2 separate regions of the Homo sapiens genome follow, and region 2 is linked to region 1. The links are contacts of gene promoters, found by promoter capture Hi-C in human tissues and cell types (Jung and others, 2019). All regions are on one chromosome and are shown on one strand. The core of a region is centred on a gene start or on the middle of the fragment in contact, and the rest is flanking DNA. Distances in the headings are between cores, read along the strand shown.

Region 1 (4,349 bases), core at 1,184-3,683:
CCCTACCCACCTCCACTCTGCGTGCAAAAATTATAATAATAATAGCAACAATAATAGTCTCATCCGCCCTGGAGACCACCCGTGCCCCCGTGGCATCCCTCAAGGACTCTCCGGGCGGTGGCAGCCGCCCACCCTGGGGACGCGCTCCTTGCTGCCACCGGAACGCCCCTGGCCAGGCTCCATCTACGCGCTGTCAGACCCTCCCGCCGTCTGAAGAAGGCTTTTACTCTTCAGCCTATTCCAGTGGCAGAGAAGCTAAGGCTACAAAGGCGAACGCGAACAGTCAGATCTGACTTCGAATTCCGCTGTCATTGCTGCCAGGCGCACCACGAGGACGCGCGGTGACCGCCACCATGGCATTCGGCTGCCAAAGGTTTCCATCGACCTCTTTCCCATCACCAGCATCGCAGCGGGAAAGAATGTGCCTGGCGCCCTTCTGGGCACTGGGCATGGGGTGGTGAACAAAGTCCTCCAGAAATAAACCGGGTAATGAGCCCGGCAGCGGCCGGGGCAGGAAGGGACCTTCGCAGAGAGTGGTCAGGCACAGCCCCTCCGAGGAGGCGACGCTCAGCTGAGACCAGGGTGACGCAAAGGTGTCGGCCGGTTAGGCACCTGTGAGGAAGGAGGAGCCGGCAGAGTGCCAAGTAGAGGGAACAGCAAATGCCCGGCTCCTTTTATAACCACTGCTTCAGTTATCTTCCCCCAAAGCTTGAGAGGGGGCAACTTTGCTACATTTCACAGACGAGGAAGCTGAGGCCCAGAACGATGAAGGAATTTACAGAGCTGGGATTCGAACCCCGCGCTACCGTCAGTCCATCCCGGGCTCTGTCCAGCCGGTACCGCGCGCCGCCTTCTTCCTCCCGCACCGTGACCTTAACTCGGCACGTGCTGGCCCCTCGGGCTCCCCAGTCTCCGTACATTGTCCCACTCAGCTCTGATTGTGGGGAGGGGGCGGACCGAGGGGGCGGGGGGCGTCTTTCCGAAGGATCGCGGAAAGCCGCGCGCTGCCAGGGGCCCGGGGTTAGAGACCCCCACTCCCGCACGGCGTTAGGGACTCCGCGCTTCCCCGCCCCCGCCGCGGCCCGCCGGCTCTGCCTCTGTCCATGGTCAAAGCACCCGGGGTAATCCGCCTTTCTCTTCCGCCCGCCGGGCCCCATTCATATTCTAATCACAGCGCGGCCGACCCGCGAACGGCCACTTTATCGGGGCCCGCAGGAGACGCAGCTTGCTCCCCCTCACTTCCACTTCCAGCACCCCCCGGCCCTCGCCCCCCTCTTTCTGCACTTTCAACTCCGCCGAGGAGGGGGTCCCTGGGAAAACCGCGTCCCCACTTGGATGCCGGGGCTTCTCACAAACTTCGAGGCCGACTGGGGGACGGCGGTGGGGTGGGGAGGGCAGGGGGAGGGCGGAGGAACAGAGACAGACAGACTGACAGAGTTACGGGAAGAGGCGGGGGAGGGGGGACAGTACAGAGAGACCGAGGGGGATAGAGACAGAGAGGGGCAGAGTCCTAGGGGGAGACAAAGAGAAGTGGAGGCAGGGTCTGGACAGAGACACTAGCAGCCAAGGAAGGAGAAATGGACAGAGACAGAGACACAGAGGACGAGAGGGACAGAGAGCTAGAAACAGACACCGGGAGACAGGCGGAGAGAGACAGCGAGATGGAAGGAGAGAAACAGGATGAAGGACCCAGGCCCAGAGGAAGACAGAAAGTTCTGGAGGAGGCGAACCAGCCACTCACCTCCTCCCCGCCTAGCGGCCTTGTTACGCTCATATTGGGGCATGGGGTCTTAGGGATTCAGTTCCCCTTCCCCACCCTTTCCCCTTCAAGCTCGCTTCACTCCCCACGCGTGTCTGCGGATCCGCGTGCAAGGGGTCAAGACATACCCCCTCCCGCATTCTCAGGGCCACCACCCGAAATCTAACCCAGGACCAAAATGGGGGGTGGGTGGGGGCGCAAGAGAAGGAAGGGAGTGGGGCCCCACTCGTGGTAGCGCAGGCGACTCCCCAGGCTCCAGGAGTTCCCCGCGGCTCCCCCCCCGCCCGCGCCCCCCTCCCGGCCTGCCAGCACGGCGCGGGGCCCGATGGTGGGGAAGGGCCGGGAGGGGGAGGGGGCCACATCTAAGCCAATTTTGATTTCGCCTATAATGAGTGCCGGGCGAAGGCTGGAGAAGGCCTCTGGAACTTTAAATAAGAAAAACGTTGCTAATGCTATAATAGAAGGGGGAAGTCGGAGGGCTGGGATTGCGTCGCTCTGAGCCCCCCTTTTCGGAGGCGGCTTTTCTTATTCAAAACAGGCCCACAATGGGCTTCACAGTGCGCCTCGCCACGGCCCCATCTGACGAGCGGCCATTCATCAGGCCGGCTGGCCTATCAATGACATTGCTCCCATCGGGGCTCCTATAAAATGATGCTTTTTCCCATGAAACATCCGCAAACATTTTGACGGGTTTGGCTTTGCCCGGCTGGATTACTGAGTGTCCCCTTGCTCGCTCGCTTTTTCTCTCTCCCCCTTCTCCGAGCTCGCTCCCTTCTCTCCCTCTCTCTCCTCTTTTCTTCTTTCTCTTTTCTTTCCTCTTCTTTTTCTTTTCTTTTCCTTTCCTCCTTTATCCTTGTGCCCCCTCACTTTCTGCGTCTCTCTCTCTCCCCTTCTCCCTCCCTCCCTCCCTTCCTCCCTGGGCATCTCTAGCACAGGGGATCCCCAAACATCAGGACTTTTGGGGGGCGCCTGTGCTGTCCATGGGAAGAGCATGCATTGTGGGTTACTGGAGGAACCCGACATGGATTCCACAGGTTAGTCCTACTGGCGGGGTTGGGGGGATACATTGGGAGGGAAGGAGAAGGGAGAGGGGGAACTTTAGAAAGAAGTTGGGAAAAGTTCAGACGGGTCAACTTGACAGTGGAACCCCAAAGAATAACGCAGAGCTTGCAGAAGTTTTCAATTCGAGGCGATGTGTGTAACTGGATGCGTGGAAGTATGTGTATAAGCGTGTGATTGTGTACGTGTGTGAGTGTGTGTGCGTGCGCGCGCGCGAAGGAGCGCGCTTTCGCTTGCCCTGGACACAAAGTTACGTAAAGATGCGCTGGCTCGCGGCGAGCTCGAGGTGCCACTTGCAGAAACTTTGCCAGCCGACCGCCCCCTCCCGGACCCAGGTCCTCCTAGGGTATGGGGGCCTCGGAATAGCGGTGCGCTCGGGGTCTGGCGGCCAGGGCCGGGAAGCCGAGCGGAACGCCCCGAGGCGGGGGAGGGTGACGGCTTCGCACTGCGCCTGGGAGGTGGGGACCGAGGCTCCGGCTGGTAGAGACGCGCAGCTGGAGGGAGTGGCGGCGGCGAACCCGGTGGTCCGGGGGAATCCGCAGAAACGGGAGGTGGGAGTCCTGGGCTGTGGGGTCGGGCTTTTAGCTTTTCTGCCAGGAAGGGGCACCCAACGCCGGGCTCCACTAGGGAGCTGTGACCTTGCTGGAGGGAGGGCAGGACGCAGACTGGCCCGCTAAACTCGGCGTTGGGGTCTGCAAACTGCTCTGCAGTTCAAGAGCTGCTGGGCGTCAGTTTTGGGGGTGCGGCGGTCCTTAACAACGAAAAAAGGAGGCCAAGGAATCTTTCACAACGAAAACACCCGGTATCTCGGTTCTTCCTCCAGTAGTTTTCGCCACCTCCCACTCCTAGCACCTTTGAAGAGCCGTCACACTTCTAGATCTGTTAACGCTCCCTAAGTCCCTTGCAGGTGGAAGTTCTCTTACAGTTCACCCCCTCCCCTAGGCTCATTCTTGCAACCCGGCTATTTTCATTTTGGCCCCCTGCAGCCTCAGAATTTCTTAGGGTGATGAGTTTGGGGAGAGGCAGAAATAGGGCAGTGGACTCAGCCTGGGCCGTGGCGAGGTTTGAGAGAATGCCTGCAAGCATAAGCTGCTGAGCATTGCAGCGCGGAGCAACAAGTGCCTTCCAGCCCCGGCCGTCCCCTGAGCATGCACGTCCTTTCCTTGAGCAAATAAACAAATGCCGCACGAATGTCTCCCCAACTCCACCCCTAGGCAGGCTGGATATGGAAGTGGGGTGGGGGCTGGGGTCATCGGGGCATTGCCCCAGAAGGTCTTTCCTCGGTCCCTGCAGAAATATTTAAGGCCTCTCCAGGTTTCCGCTGCAGCCCTGGTGGCCCGGACACCGGACTGCTCTTGCCAGGGGGATATTCTGTGTTTTAGGGTAGTTGTCGATCTCTGATTCCTAGAGTCAAGGCCCCGCCTGATTGCACTCCCCTGGCTGGGTGTGAGCCCCCAGGGAGTGGGGAAAGGCTAAGCCCCGAAGTTCTCCTTCCTATACTCGATGACAAACGAAGGCAAGGAGAAGCGTC
Region 2 (4,349 bases), core at 1,057-3,556, 200 kb before region 1:
ACCCCAAAATCAATACTTGTGGTGCTTTTGTGGTTATTCACAGATATGCACTGACACAGAGTGGTAAAAACTTAGAATCACCCAGCGCACATATTCCCAGCTGAGATTGAACAAGGCAACACTCTGCCTTCTTGTTTCAGCCCTCATGCTGTAATCGAGTGTCTGTTTTGCAGTCTATTTAGTGCCGTATTTTTTGTATTTTTGTGCTTTGTTGATTGCAGTATAAGATGGCCCCCTAGTATAATGCTAAAGTGCTGTCGAGGTGTTCCAAAGGGCAAACAGGCTGTGATGTGCCTTCTGGAGAAAATATGTGTTAGATAAGCTTGATAAGCTTTGTTCAGGCATGAGTTATAGTGCTGTTGGCTAACTTCAAAGTTAACTAATCGATATATATTAAATGTCTTTTTTTTTTTTTTTGAGATGGCGTTTCGCTCTTTCACCCAGGCTGGAGTGGAATGGCGTGATCTCAGCTTAATGCAACTTCCCGTCCAGTTTCAAGCTATTCTCCTGCCTCAGCCTCCCAAGTAGCTGCGATTTCAGGCGCCCTCCACCACGCCCAGCTAATTTTTGTATTTTTGGTAGAGATGGGGTTTCACCATGTTGGCTAGGCTGGTCTCGAACTCTTGACCGTGTGATCCTCCCGCCTTGGCCTCCCAAAGTGCTGGGATTAGGTGTAAGCCACAGCGCCTGGCCTTAAATATCTTTTAAAAGAAACACACAGAAAATAACGTTCTGTATTGATTAGTTGAGGAAAATGTTGTGACCATAGGCTCACAGGAACCTAGCCCTATATTTTTCCTGGAGCAATGGTTCAGTATTCACTATTCAGTATTTGGTATAATTCAGCAACTTTATAGAACATAACTACCTTGGATAATGATAACCGATTGTATATAGGTATAAAATGAATCTTGATAACCAGTTTAGTTGAAATGAAGAGCTCAGATTATTTGAGGAGATACTGGATGCTTCAGATAATTTTAGAAATTTATAGTATTTATTCAGTTTCAATAGTTATGATAGTGGAAATAATTTTTGAGTCAAAATTAGAAAAAAAACAAAGGAAGAGATCCTCTGAGGCTGAACTAAGTTCGTTGAAACGGAAAAGCATTTTGGGTATAAGCCTCAGAGGAGTAAGAAAGAAGGGAATGAGTCTTTACTGTTAAAGTTGTAATCAGGTGACAGAGTATAGGAGTCAGGGAGGAAAGTAGCCCTCAAATCAGTCTGGTGATTGGGATTTAGGGAGAGAGTATTGGTAAGAGTATTCATAAGTATTGAATGGACATTGACAAGTCAGGTTCTTTAACTCAGGAAGCATCCATGTTCTAAATGCAATTGTGTGAAGAAACTTTTAGGAAATTTTAAACTGTTTATTGTAGCCTAATGTGCTTTTGAGTTCTATAAATGAGATGGAGCCATTTTCTTTTCAGGATGATGATGATGATAGTCTTAGTAGCAGTACCATGATATCAGAGGGCCCAGGAAGAATTCTTAAATATACTTTTTCTTTTCTTTCTTTACGGTTTGCATTTTTTAAGCACAAAAGTAATTTTGACTTTTCTTGTAGGGATCCCACAGTGCCCAATGCAGTGTTTTATGTACATACTGATGAATAAAGAAAATTTTATCTAACGGGGCTGGGCGCGGTGGCTCATGCCTATAATCCCATCGCTTTGGGAGGCCAAGGTGGGTGGATCACTTGAGGTCAGGAGTTTGAGACCAGCCTGGCTAACATGGTGAGAAGCCATCTCTGCTAAAAATACAAAAACTAGCCGGGCATGGTGGCTCACGCCTGCCCCAGCTACTTGGGAGGCTCAGGCAGGAGAACTGCTTGAACCCAGGAGGCAGAGGTTGCAGTGAGGCGAAATCGCACCACTGCACTCCAGCCTGGGTGACAGAGGGAGACTCCGTCTCAAAAAAAAAAAAAAAGAAAACTTTATCTAATGGTGTAGAATTACATCTCCAGCAGAGGGCAGTATGTTCCCATGCATCCAAAGGACTTTTTTTTTTAGAAAGTTTTATAGACACTTGAAGATGCATAGTACTCTTTCTTTCTACCAGAAATTATAAATTAATTATAATGCATATAATCTTCTATCACTCATGGAAAATGCATGACTAGACTCATGCATACATTAAAATCAGAAAACATTAAGTACTGTTTTTTGGCCCGGTGATGAGTTTAATAAGACAGTTTTGCTGGGCGTGGTGGCTCACACCTGTAATCCCAGCACTTTGGGAGGCCGAGGTGGGCGGATCACGAGGTCAGGAGATGGAGACCACCCTGGCTAACACGGTGAAACCCCGTCTTTACTAAAAATACAAAAAATTAGCTGGGCATGGTGGCAGGTGCCTGTAGTCCCAGCTACTCAGGAGGCTGAGGCAGGAGAATGGCGTGAACCTGGAAGCCGGAGCATGCAGTGAGCCAAGATCACACCACTGCACTGCAGCCTGGGCAACAGAGCAAGACTCTGTCTCAAAAAAAAAAAGAAAAAAGTTTCTTCTGTCAAGTTTGTTTAATGTTTATATTGTACATCTATACACGCATATGCTTACATACACACAGCTGACTTAAATCCTTTTTAGAATAGGGCTGTAAATTAACAATATGCATATTTATGTAACCAGTAGTTGTGGTTTCAGACTTCTCCCTTTCTGATTATAAAAACATTCCTTGCATTATTTAAATTTAGAAAGCCACTTAAAAGTATATCTACATTTTTGGATATATTTTTCCAGACAGTTTTCCTGTGCTTTTGTGATATACACATACATTTTTATTTTTTTCACTTAACAGTGCATTATGAATAGCTTTCCCTGTTATGAATCTGCATCATTATTTTTAGTGACTGTTGTGTAGAAGTTGCATACTTGTGGTGGAATTTACTTAACCACTTTCCTCTAGTGGGGCATTTAGGCGTCATTTTTTTCCCCAAGGCTTTACTCTTAAACACAACCCTAGGATGACTGTTATACATACCTGTTTGTGCACATTGCTGATTGTTTTGTAAGACTTTATTCCTGAGAGTGGAATTTCTTTTTTTTTAAACTTGGTGCATGTTGCCAATTATTTTCCTGAAACGTATCCACTACATTCTAATCAGTAAATATTTTAAAATTTTTAGTTTGGATAAATGAGCTAAATATTTTGGTCATAAATGGTCACTTTTATTGGTCTCCCACAATAGGTATGTTTTAATAAATTGATGGGAATTTGTTTGATAACCACTATTTAGACTTTTCCATCTGGGAGGCAGCATAGAGTATTGGATATCTTAGAATCAGACAGATTTAGGTTGAATCCCAGCATCTGCACTTATTAGTTATGTGACCTTGGGCATATTTTCCAGTCTCTTTAAGTCTTGAATAACTCATCTATTAAGGTGAGAATTTTAAGAGAGTTGCTGTGAAGAGCAAACAGGATCATGTATTTTTTGAAAAGTCCTGGAAGGGGAGTGCCCTTTTTCTTTCCTTAGTTGTCTTTATGGTCAGAAACCCGGGAAAACAAATGGGGATACCAGAAAAGACACATCATTTCTCTTTGAGTGTTGTGTGGCCCTAACACAGACCTTGACAGTCATTAGGACTTGATGGTTGTTGATTATAACCAACAATTGGCTGAAAGTGACAGGAACAGCAGGGTTTCCAGATTCCATGCTGAGTCTGAATATGATGGAGAAAGCTTTTAAGACATAGATCAGCCTTATTTATGGACTTGGATCACTACAAAGGTTCTCCTGCCCATGAATCTTCCCCACTTTACATTTTGTATTCCCAAGTATGCTGCCTGCACTTATGATGGCATCTGTAGTTTGAAAGTTTTTGTGGAAAAGAGAATCAAATTTCAAGGGTGCTGGGCAGTGTTTCCTGGAAACTAACTTATATGGAAATTTATCTTTTTTTTTTTTGAGATGGAGTCTTGCTCTGTCACCAGGCTAGAGTGCAGTGGCGCGATCTCAGCCCACTGCAACCTCCAACTCCCTGGTTCAAGCGATTCTTCTGCCTCAGCCTCCCAAGTAGCTGGGATTACAGGCATGCACCACCACGCCCAGCTAATTTTTGTATCTTTAGTAGAGACGGGGTTTCTCCATGTTGGCCAGGATGGTCTTGATCTCCTGACCTGGTGATCTGCCCACCTTAGCCTCCCAAAGTGCTGGGATTACAGGCGTGAGCCAATGTGCCTGGCTGAAATTTATCTTCTTTAAAGAGAAACAGTTACAAAGTTAGAGAGGGCTATCACAGTTCTCTTATTACCTGCTGGGACTACTGTGAGTAATAATAGATTGATTTTGGTCTACTTTAAAGAAACATTAGAGATTTCTGAATATTAGATATTTTAAGAAGTTATT

The links. Contacts are between HindIII fragments. The study calls those that stand out against the background at their distance.
Region 2: a fragment that was not itself captured here is called in contact with the fragment with the promoter of RFX4 in region 1 in 1 of the 25 tissues and cell types used here (mesendoderm cells).

Annotation. Positions count from the first base shown.
Region 1 is chr12:106,580,571-106,584,919 of GRCh38, forward strand. It overlaps RFX4 (regulatory factor X4), which reads left to right and starts at 2,434. Exons shown (of 18, transcript NM_213594.3): 1 at 2,434-2,793. The coding sequence starts at 2,751. The region is part of intron 1 of LOC100287944 (a long non-coding RNA gene); the gene reads right to left. RefSeq lists enhancers at 513-1,395, 2,884-3,468. The HindIII fragment of the contact is 9,839 bases long and covers 198-4,349 here.
Region 2 is chr12:106,384,429-106,388,777 of GRCh38, forward strand. The region is part of intron 9 of POLR3B (RNA polymerase III subunit B); the gene reads left to right. Among named protein-coding and RNA genes, the nearest start is that of POLR3B, 29 kb to the left of the region's middle. The HindIII fragment of the contact is 3,960 bases long and covers 327-4,286 here.